Linked DNA regions of Homo sapiens: region 2 is linked to region 1. Evidence: promoter capture Hi-C in 16 types of primary human blood cells and fetal thymus (Javierre and others, 2016). All regions are on one chromosome and are shown on one strand. Each heading gives the region's core, a stretch centred on a gene start or on the middle of the fragment in contact. The rest is flanking DNA. Distances are from core to core; before and after follow the strand shown.

What was found. The method cuts DNA at HindIII sites, captures the fragments that hold promoters and counts their contacts. A CHiCAGO score of 5 or more calls a contact.
Region 2: a fragment that was not itself captured here is called in contact with the fragment with the promoter of INHBE in region 1 in 5 of 17 cell types (naive CD8 T cells, naive B cells, total CD4 T cells and 2 more); the score reaches 7.6 in naive CD8 T cells.

Annotation. Positions count from the first base shown.
Region 1 is chr12:57,450,967-57,456,575 of GRCh38, forward strand. INHBE (inhibin subunit beta E) reads left to right here and starts at 4,341. Exons shown (of 2, transcript NM_031479.5): 1 at 4,341-4,868; 2 at 5,128-5,609. The coding sequence starts at 4,571. INHBC (inhibin subunit beta C) reads left to right here. Exons shown (of 2, transcript NM_005538.4): 2 at 1-1,096. RefSeq lists an enhancer at 4,020-4,314. The HindIII fragment of the contact is 16,061 bases long and covers 2,297-5,609 here.
Region 2 is chr12:57,743,385-57,749,111 of GRCh38, forward strand. It overlaps TSPAN31 (tetraspanin 31), which reads left to right and starts at 1,655. Exons shown (of 6, transcript NM_005981.5): 1 at 1,655-1,833; 2 at 2,361-2,528; 3 at 2,792-2,872; 4 at 3,205-3,336; 5 at 3,634-3,747; 6 at 3,832-5,727. The coding sequence starts at 1,771. The coding sequence ends at 3,906. CDK4 (cyclin dependent kinase 4) reads right to left here. Exons shown (of 8, transcript NM_000075.4): 8 at 4,343-5,233. The coding sequence ends at 5,141. MIR6759 (microRNA 6759) reads right to left here and starts at 5,298; the gene lies at 5,234-5,298. RefSeq lists an enhancer at 2,386-2,465. The HindIII fragment of the contact is 195 bases long and covers 3,945-4,139 here.

The sequences.
Region 1 (5,609 bases), core at 3,091-5,590:
AACAGACAGCTGAAAAGTCCTCTATCTCCTACAAGGGCCCTAACTGGCACCCCAGATGACACAGAGCCTGCCTGCTTATGCTGTAGTCTGCCTACTCTGCTGTCTCTTCACATGGTCTCCTCAGAACTGAACTATTGTATCCATCTCACACTTTATGCCTCTTCTTTCTTAGGCACCCCGTCCCTCCATCCTTCCAGAACCATCTTTGAGGTCTCATGGCTAATAAAAACCTAGGCTTTACCTGTTCCCTCTGTAATCCCTCCAAAAGATGAGACAGATCTATGCTTGGTCATCCAGTAAACTGACCAGCTGTGGGCACGCAAGTGTGGGAGGCAGAGGCATGCTCAGAGCTGGCTGCCAGGACCTCTGACTTGCCTTCCTTTCACCCACCCCCAGTGCTCCACCCAGGAGTCCTGCCTGGAAGCTGGAATGGGCAAGGGCTGCTGGAGTGGGACAGGGAGAAGAGGAAGGCCTGGATGAGGAGAGGGTGGCATTTGCTCTGAGACTGGGTCCTTTTTAGACCTTTGCCCGTCCTCCCCCACATCTCCTCCCTTTGGCTGGACAGTCCTGAACCATGAGGTCGATAATGTCTGCAGCCCAAGGCCGAGTTTGCGCAAAACCCATGTGTTCTTTGGTAAACGTGATGTCTGTGTTTGCTCAGTTTATGACCCCCTCCTATGAGGGTAAGAGGTCCCTGAAATAGGAACCCTAGAGGAGAAAGTCTGAAAAGGACTGCCTGGGGGACTGTAAATCTGAGCTTGAGGGCTTCCTGAGCAACCCATGGAAGTTATCCCACCTTTGACTTGAGGAGACCTTCATCTAAGGAGAATCTAAGGAGGCCTTCTGGTGTCTCCCCCACACATCCCCGACCCCCAGATCTAACCTCCTTCCCAATTACAGCTTAGTCTCCAGGGCTAGGACTGGGGTAAAGCAAAGTGAGTCATTCACCTGGGGGGGCTAAATTTTAAGGGGGTGGTGAACAATTTATTAATCAAGATAGGACTTTAATGCAATATTATTTTAAAGTCAAAATTAATGCAAAAAATCCATGATGAACAAAATAGCCTACTTTTAAATAAAAACAGGATCAGCATTATTCCCTTTCTTTTTTGGCTCTGTCTTTTGTAATAAGGGGAGAGAGTGGGTCTGTCTTCTTCTAAACATTTTCTTCTAGAGCTTCCTAGCTCCTACCTCTGGACCCCTTCAGGCTTTTCTCATTTGAGCAAGATAACCACTCCCACTTCTTCTACTTCCTTACCCACCCCCAAGCCTGTCGCTATCCCCCAGCCCCCAACCAGGTTGGTGGTAGGGCAGGCAGTGAGGCAGATGGCTGGGGTATTTATAACCCAGGAGCACTTCTTGGGAAAAGTGACTAAGATGCTAAGAGCGTATTTATAGCTGAGCTCTGACGTAAGTGTCAGTGGGGAGGTAGGGCCAGGCCAGGCACAGCAGCAAGCGGGTGGGAAGAGCTGGAAACTGGGGGCATCTGACAGTGAGGGTGGGGAGAGGTGGGGTCAGTGACTCCTGCAGCCACTTCTTGTCACTTCCCCTGACTGCCTACTGATACCAACAGGTAAGCCGTCTGAGGCACCACCATGGATAGATACCTCCACTTTGCTGACCAATGTTCCAGACCCGAGGGGGTAGAGGGCTGTCATTTCCCAGCCCAACCAACAGAATGGTTGCTGGGAGCTGGGGAGAACACTGGACAGAGCTCTTGAATGTGTTTCAGAGCTTGGGGAGAAATGCAGGGTGGACAGGAGGGTCTAATCGTCTCAGTGCGCCCCCACCCCACTCCACCCCCACCAAAGAGTGCCCTGAGGTTCTAGGAAGAGCCTGGTACATCACCAAGCTCCATTGCCACGTGTTTGTGTGATGAGGTCCAAAACCAAAGGTAGCAGTGATGTGGATCCTGAAGACAGTCTCTCTTCTCTGGCAGTGTGATGGGGAAAGAACAAAGGAACCAGCTTGTCCCTGTCTCTTGTGGGGGAGGCAGCGTCCCCAGAGTGAGAGGTCGAGGGGCACTCCTCATCACTCCATTCCCCAGAGCTGCCCCTTCCCTGTCCCTGGGAAGCTCCAGCCAGCTACAAGCCAGCTGCTGTCCAGAGGCACGGCACTGCCACATGGTGGACACTGGTGGTACTGAGGTCCAGCCTTCCAATTAGGAACCCTGTCGCCTAGATCTAATAGTCTCTCTTGACAGCCCCCATCATCTAAACAGAGGGGAGATGAGCAAAGTGGAGTAAAGACACATTTCCAAATCACACCCACTTCCCCCACAGCTTTCTCCCCATCAAGCTTCTTGGAGAAATTGGGGCATAAGGAGAAAAGCTAGCATGAGGCCCACCTTCATGAATTCAATGTGGAGGGGTCTGGGTCCCCCCCCATTTAAAGCCAGTGAGGACTGGGTGTGGTGGCTCATGTCTATAATCCTAGCGCCTTGGGACGCTGAGGTGAGAGGATCGCTTGAGCCCAGGAGCTTGAGACCACCCTGGGCAACACAGCAAGACCCTGTCTCTACAAAAGAATAAAAAATAAATTAGCCTGTGTGGTGTGGTGTGGTGTGGTTGGTGTGGTGGCACGCACCTGTAGACTTAGCTACTCTGGAAGCTGAGGTGGAAGAATCACTTAACCCAGGAGGTCAAGGCTGCAGTGAGCTGTGATCAGGCCACCACACTCCAGCCTGGATGACAGAGTAAGACCCTGTCTCAAAAACATAAAAAATAAAATAAAAAATAGGTCAGGTGCGGTGGCTCATGCCTGTAATCCCAGCACTTTGGGAGGCCGAGGCGGGCAGATCATGAGGTCGGGAGATGGAGACCATCCTGGCTAACACAGTGAAACCCCGTCTCTACTAAAAATGCAAAAAACTAGCCGGGCGTGGTGGCTGGCACCTGTAGTCCCAGCGACTCGGGAGGCTGAGGCAGAAGAATGGTGTGAACCCGGGAGGTGGAGCTTGCAGTGAGCCGAGATTGTGCCACTGCACTCCAGCCTGGGCGACAGAGCGAGACTCAGCCTCAAAAAATAAAATAAAATAAAATAAAATAAAGACAGTGAGAAAATGTGGTCAGGAGGGCTGAGACTGGGAACCAAGACTGCTGTATTTGCCTTGCTTTGTTGTCAAAAGCTCTTAGAGCTCCCATTTTCTACCCCCATTAACAGGCCTGAAGGGTGGTGCGGTGGCTCACGCCTGTAACCTCAGCACTTTAGGAGGCTGAGGCAAGTGGATTGCTTGAGCCCAGGAGTTCAAGACCAGCCTGGGCAACATAGCGAGACCCTGTCTCTGTGGGAAATTTAAAAATTAGCCAGGTGTGGTGGTGCGCACCTGTAGTCCCAACTACTAAGGAGGCTGAGGCAGAAGGATTGTCTGAGCCCAGGAATTCAAGGCTGCAGTGAGCTATGATTGTGCCACTACACTCCAGCCTGAACAACAGATTGAGACCTTACCTCAGTAAAATAAAATAAAATTTAAATTTTAAAAATGTAAGAAAAAAAGGAGGCCTGGCACTACTTCTAGGATGCCCCAAATTTAGGCAACTCTCACAGTCCCTTGAAAGAGAAGTGGCAGCTGGGTATAGGCCCTCCCAAGTGTCATGCCCCCTGACAGTCCTGATGGACTCTGCCCTGTGTAAGATTGCATCACCACCACCACCACCTCTCTGGGCTTCCCCAGACATCACAGGAACACGTTCCCCGCCCCAACCCCCGCCGGCTCTGGCCCTCCTCCACATCATGCTCCACATCATGCTCCAGGCCAACTGGACTCTGGGCGGCCAGCACAGGCAGGGTCAGGGGGTGACTTCTGTGCCTCGTGGCACTGCCACCTGGGCCTGAGCAAGAGGGCTCCATTCTCCTACCCGCCCAAACCCTCATCCCTGTCCTAGCCCCAGTGCTAGAAATAAAGAGACCAGAATTTTCCTTCTGGCCTAAGGGCCCCAGAGGAATACCCACTGGAACTCACAGCTGCCTCATGGAAACTGCTGCAGCAGTGGTGAAGCTAGAAAGACTAGAGGTATGAGGGAAAATTGCCCTTCCCCACCTGGCTCATAAGGCGTTCCCTCCCCCAAGTCCCAGACCTTGGGGACTGAGCATGTGAAATCATCCTCTTTCTTGCATCATGCGTGTCCACATTGCACCCCCCCACCCCCATACCCCTACTTCAGGCCCAGTCACCATGGCCAGATGGTGAAACCTGAGCTGATGGGGAGGAGGACCTCCACCCCCTGCAGGGGCCTGATGGGCAGCACAGCTGGCCAATCCTGGGACTCAGAGGGTAGGTCGGCTGGCTGACCACTAGGTTTGGAAGACCCAGGCAGCTGGCTCTAAAGAGGCCCCAGGTCAGTAGCCAGACATGAGCTGTGAGGGTCAAGCACAGCTATCCATCAGATGATCTACTTTCAGCCTTCCTGAGTCCCAGACAATAGAAGACAGGTGGCTGTACCCTTGGCCAAGGGTAGGTGTGGCAGTGGTGTCTGCTGTCACTGTGCCCTCATTGGCCCCCAGCAATCAGACTCAACAGACGGAGCAACTGCCATCCGAGGCTCCTGAACCAGGGCCATTCACCAGGAGCATGCGGCTCCCTGATGTCCAGCTCTGGCTGGTGCTGCTGTGGGCACTGGTGCGAGCACAGGGGACAGGGTCTGTGTGTCCCTCCTGTGGGGGCTCCAAACTGGCACCCCAAGCAGAACGAGCTCTGGTGCTGGAGCTAGCCAAGCAGCAAATCCTGGATGGGTTGCACCTGACCAGTCGTCCCAGAATAACTCATCCTCCACCCCAGGCAGCGCTGACCAGAGCCCTCCGGAGACTACAGCCAGGGAGTGTGGCTCCAGGGAATGGGGAGGAGGTCATCAGCTTTGCTACTGTCACAGGTGGGTGAGGGAGAGAGCAACAGGCAAAGAGCAGACAGGGAAAGGGAGGCAGAAGGGGAGCCTGGCAGGAGCAGCAGAGGGAGTGGGGTGTGGCAGGAGAAGGAGGAGCTGGGGCAGGGACTGGTTGCAGAGGACACAAAGCAGTCTCTACTTTTCTAGAGGTAGGTTCGAGGGAGAGCAGTGGGCAGGGCTTGGGGAGTCTCAGAGGAGAGCTTCATCTCTACTCACATTTTCTTTCCCTTTTCTGTCTTTCGGGCAGACTCCACTTCAGCCTACAGCTCCCTGCTCACTTTTCACCTGTCCACTCCTCGGTCCCACCACCTGTACCATGCCCGCCTGTGGCTGCACGTGCTCCCCACCCTTCCTGGCACTCTTTGCTTGAGGATCTTCCGATGGGGACCAAGGAGGAGGCGCCAAGGGTCCCGCACTCTCCTGGCTGAGCACCACATCACCAACCTGGGCTGGCATACCTTAACTCTGCCCTCTAGTGGCTTGAGGGGTGAGAAGTCTGGTGTCCTGAAACTGCAACTAGACTGCAGACCCCTAGAAGGCAACAGCACAGTTACTGGACAACCGAGGCGGCTCTTGGACACAGCAGGACACCAGCAGCCCTTCCTAGAGCTTAAGATCCGAGCCAATGAGCCTGGAGCAGGCCGGGCCAGGAGGAGGACCCCCACCTGTGAGCCTGCGACCCCCTTATGTTGCAGGCGAGACCATTACGTAGACTTCCAGGAACTGGGA
Region 2 (5,727 bases), core at 2,792-5,291, 290 kb after region 1:
ACGCCTGTAATCGTAGCACTTTGGGAGGCCGAGGCGGGCAGATCACCTAAGGTCAGGAGTTCGCCACCAGCCTGGCCAACATGGCAAAACCCCATCTCTACTAAAAATACAAAAAAATTAGCTGGGTGTGGTGGCGGGCACCTGTAATCCAGCTACTCGGGAGGCTGAGCCAGGCAGGAGAATTGTTTGAACCCGGGAGGTGAAGGTTGCAGTGAACTGAGATCGCGCCACTACACTCCAGCCTGGGCGACAGAGGGAGACTCTGTCTCAAAATAATAATAATGATAATAACTTAATTACCTTGTTTCAAGACCCAAACACCTCTCTCGCCCTGTCAAACATCTATTCTCCTGCATACCTTTTTGGTATTAATTTCTGTAAGAGTTTATATAAATACTGTGTAGTTAAAGATAAGGGAATTGAGGTTGGAATTGCCCACAGGAACCTGTAAAATGACCTGAAAAGTAATAACTAACATTGAGTGTTTACTATATGCCAGGTACTGTTCTAAGTATTCTACATATATTAACTCATTTAATTCTTACAACCCAAGAGGTAGGGTGTGTTGTTATTTATCCCCATTTTACAGATGAGGAAACACGCACAGACAGTTTCTAAGTGCCTGGCCAAAGGTTACGCAGCTAGGAAGTGGCAATCTGACTGTGGCAGTAAGTCTATAGAATCTAAGTACACACAAACTTAAATCATTCTGTTGAGTTGATTGGAGGGTTTTCTTTTTTGTTCCTACTGTTTCTTTCTCCTGGGGAAGAGAAGGATTATGCCTTTCCCTACCCCCGTGAGAAGGACGGTTTGTCAAAGCACTTACTAGATAATAAAGTTGTTGATCAGCCTACCCCCAAGTGAAAAGGTGGAGGCTCCTTCCACTTATATTTATGTAAATGAGACTCTTCCTCTTGCCTGCCGTTTTTTTGCAAGCCCTAGATCAGGCGTGTACTCTGAAAATGCTGAGCACACCCCTCTGTGCACTTGTGGCAATGCCACATACAGGAATGCGCTGGCCTGAGGCCGCTATTTCCACACTGAATTTCTGGTATATTCACACCCCTTTAGGAGGAGATATGGAACAGGACATGGGTACTAGAGGACACACAAACGTGTGATGATTTGCTGGGTGTTGCTGTGTCCAACCCGCGGACTCTGCGGCCGGGCTAAATAAGCTCAATATGTGGCTCCTTTGGGTGTTCCCGAGCGTGACGCAATAACAAAACAATGGCGTCATCGTGAGGTCACTGCAGAACAGGGGGAAGGGGGTGGGGAAGGGCCCTCCTTCTACGGGCGGAGCCCTTTTTGCCCAGCTCTCAGAGCGGCCCCCTACCCGCCCCTCCCGCCGTCTCCCCTTCACCTAAGTTCCTCCAGAGCCGTCTCCCTGGGAATTAGCCCTCTCCTAACTCCGACCACAGAAAGCTCAGCTTTCAACCTAAGCTTTTGGAGTTTAGGCTGTAGTCCCTAAGAGAGTCTCTAGAAACCCTGCCCCTAGTTTTAAGTTTCGCCCAATGAAAAAACAAAAGGAGAGGGACAGAAGGCGGGTCGGTGACGTAATGCGGGTTGATTGGCATGCAGGCCTTGGACGTCCAGGATTAGCCACGCATTTCGCCAATCCAGAGGCAGGGGAGGGACGGTGCAGGCGCAGAGTATTGGGTTTGGCTGGCCTCGATTTAAAGAGACAGAAGCTGTCGGGGTCCTGGAAGACGGTCCCCAATACCCTCCCCCCAAGTCCTTGGGACCACTTGGGTCCCCAGAGCTGGGGAGATGGTTTGTGGCGGCTTTGCCTGCTCCAAGAATGCGCTTTGCGCTCTCAACGTGGTCTACATGGTGAGGTTTTGGAGGTGGGGGAAGCTTCAAGGCGGAAAGGCCCCGTGGGGAGAATCTCTAGGGTACTTCCGGTGGGGAGAGGGGTGTATGGGGGTTCCGGGAAGATTCCCAGGAACTTCCGGCGACGAGGGAATTCCTGGGGACTTCCGTGGGAGAGAGGAGACTTCCGGTTGATTAAGGGGGTTTGTCTGAGGGTGGGGGAATGAACTGAAGGCCGTGGGCGTAAGTTCCATACCTCCTTCCTGTGAACCTCAGTTTCTTCCAAACTGGAAGTGATAGGATGATCCTGAGGGTTCATCTTTTGCATTCATACTACCATCCCTGCCACCCCCTCCCCGCCATCCTAGCCATTCTAACCTTTGGGAGTGCCTAGGGATGCTCCCGGTGCGGATAGCACCATCCCCAGCTCCCATTCACACACTATTCCATTATTCCTTCCCCCTGCCCCGCTCCCAAGTCCTCTTGTATGGCCTTGGGCTGTGCCGCATGCTAGAATTGTTGAGATGTATCCTGCTCTTTCTTCGTAGCTGGTGAGCTTGTTGCTCATTGGAGTGGCTGCTTGGGGCAAGGGCCTGGGTCTGGTGTCCAGCATCCACATCATCGGCGGAGTCATTGCTGTGGGAGTCTTCCTTCTCCTTATTGCAGTGGCTGGACTGGTGGGTGCTGTCAACCACCACCAAGTCCTGCTGTTCTTTGTATCCTGACCTGAAGTGATGGGGGCAACCGGGGGCTTGGGAGGGCTGTCATCTAAGGAAGATGTTAGAAGGGTAGGGGACCTCAGGGATCTTGGACACGTCTCCTTGCCCTGCCCTGTCCCATAATCTACGAAACAAGAGCTGATTTTATTGCTTTCAATTTGACATGGTGGTGTAAGTTCTATGAACAGATGAGACCAGACAGTTATTATAGATGAAACATAAAGGAATCTAGGACTTTTTTCCATAACCTTTCCTCTCAGTACATGATCATCCTTGGTTTGGTCTTCATCTTCCAATTTGTAATCTCTTGCTCATGTCTGGCTATTAACCGAAGCAAACAGGTAAGACAGTACCCTTTCAAGTACTTACTTGCTTTTTAAAATTTTCCTCTTAACCTCGAACTCCTTCCTTAGTCTGGCCCCAACTACCCAAAGATCATCCTTAGGTGCACTGCTTCTGGCCTCTTGGGCTATTTGCTTCCTCTGGGATGTCTGGTTAATTTTCCATGAGGATGATCTAGAGAACCTCAAAAGGTAGATATTTATCGTGTCTATAATTGTTGCACACCGTTATGCTTCTGTTTGACTTCCTTTGCTGGGCTAGGGAAATTGAGGCACTTGAACTGATAACAGGATGTAGGGAGACTTAATTTCCCTCTACCCATATCTTTCAGACAGATGTCATCAATGCTTCTTGGTGGGTCATGAGCAACAAGACTCGGGATGAACTGGAAAGAAGTTTTGATTGTTGTGGCTTATTCAACCTCACAACCCTGTATCAACAAGATTATGATTTCTGCACTGCAGTGAGTGTGTTGGGGGTGGTGCAGCAGCCAGGGGAGGTAGGAAACTGGGTAAGGACAATGCCCAAGTTGGCAAATTTAGTTTGAATGTCATTGTTTCTCTCTCTACAAGCCCTCTTGTATTGGGGCTGTGTTGGTGGGAGGTGGGGGTGGATAGAGGCTGGGGAATTAGCCAAGTAGGATTTTAGTTTGTAGGACACTGGTCAGATAACAGTAAAGTTTCTAGGGACATTCGGCATAGGTATTAGTCACTAGCAACTTTACATTCACAACTTTGCATTCTTCACGTTTTATCCTCAGATCTGCAAGAGCCAGAGCCCCACATGCCAGATGTGTGGAGAAAAGTTTCTTAAGCATTCAGACGAAGCCCTGAAAATCCTAGGGGGTGTTGGACTCTTCTTTAGCTTTACAGAGGTAACATTCTCCAGTTCCCTCACACACATCCTTTTTGAGACTGAGAATTAATTGATACTTATCTCTCTCCCTTTGTTCCTACAGATCCTTGGTGTTTGGCTAGCAATGAGATTTCGGAATCAGAAGGATCCTAGAGCCAACCCCAGTGCCTTTCTATGAGACTTTGGATCCTTCTGACTTTTCTTCTGCTCTCTCTAAGCTTTCTCTTCCTCCCTTAGGGAATATCTAGGGTCTGTAACCGTTTTGGTTTGAGAAAAAGGAAAGGCCCCTTGTCACATCCTCTAAAATTGATGGAATAGCAAGACTTTATGCCTTGACATATTTTAGTGGGAGCCAGACTATAAGGAATAAAAGGAAAAACTTTCTTCCTCTCTCTCCAAGAGGATATGGGAAGCTTCTGTGAGTGCATAGGATGGGGGCTGGAGTCATTCTTAGCTGTTTCCCTTCCTCTGTCCATATACTGGATCACCTCAACATACCCTGGTGTGGCTCTAAGGGTAAATCAGGGATAGGGCCAAGGAGAAAACAACCAAGAACTCTTTCCTGTAATAAGCAGGATCCAGTTTGAGAAAGTTTAGCGAATATAAAAGTAAAAGCCATTTAAAAATCTATATTCTTTTTTTTTTTTTGACACAGAGTCTTGCTCTGTTGCCCAGGCTGGAGTGCAATGGCATGATCTCGGCTCACCGCAACCTCTGCCTCCCGGGTTCAAGCGATCCTCCTGCCTCAGTCTCCCAAGTAGCTGGGATTACAGGTGTGCACCACCACGCCTGACTAATTTTGTATTTTTAGTAGAGACAGGGTTTCACCATGTTAGTCAGGCTGGTCTCGAACTCCTGACCTCAGGTGATCCACCCGCGTTGGCCTCCCAACGTGCTGGGATTATAGGCGTGAGCCACCACGCCCCGCCTAAAATCCATATTCAAAGAAGCAATTTCAGTTCCTTTCTAAGCTTTGTCAGTCAAGGGGCTCCACTGACTTCCTAGGCCCTGTAATTTAACCAGTCTTTAAGGTTTTGCAGGAAAGTCCCTTCTTCCAAGTGGTTTTTCCAAATCGCACAATGGCAAAGCCAAACAGAGGAAGAAACATTAAAAAAAAAAAAAAGACCATTATTTCTTTGTTTTGTTTTTCCTGTATAAAAAAGGACCCCAAATATAAAGGTAGGGAAAGGGACAAGAGGGAACATACCCCTTAGTGTAGAGAAATGGGAAGGAGAAGGAGAAGCCTCAAAAGGAGAGGTGGGAGGGGAATGTCATTAAGGCAGCAAAGTAATCTCTGTAGAAAGATGGAGGAGGACCCTCCATAGCCTCAGAGATAAAGGCAAAGATTGCCCTCTCAGTGTCCAGAAGGGAAATGGCAGCTTTTCTTCCTTCCATGGCAGCCACTCCATTGCTCACTCCGGATTACCTTCATCCTTATGTAGATAAGAGTGCTGCAGAGCTCGAAAGGCAGAGATTCGCTTGTGTGGGTTAAAAGTCAGCATTTCCTGAGGGGAGAGGCAAAGGTCAGAAAACCATGAAGAAAACAGACTTCTGCCCACCCACAACAATACCTGGGATGAGCTTTCTTCTTTTTTCTTTTTTTTTTTTTTTGAGACGGAGTCTCGCTCTATCACCCAGGCTGGAGTGCAATGGTATGATCTCAGCTCACTGCAACCTCCGCCTCCTGAGTTGAAGTGATTCTCCTATCTCAGCCTCCCAAGTAGCTGAGATTACAGGCGTGTGCCACCACCCCCGGCTTATTTTTGTACTTTTAGTAGAGACGAGGTTTCACCATGTTGGCCAGGCTGGTCTCGAACTCCTGACCTCAGGTGATACGCCCACCTTGGCCTCCCAAAGTGCTGGGATTACAGGCGTGAGCCACCGTGCCCAGCCAGGATGGGTTCTCTTCTATATCCTTCTCTGTGGGTGGCTATTTGCAGCTGTAATAAAAACTACAGCCCATCTACCAACCAAGTTTCATTAACCACAGTGGCCAGGG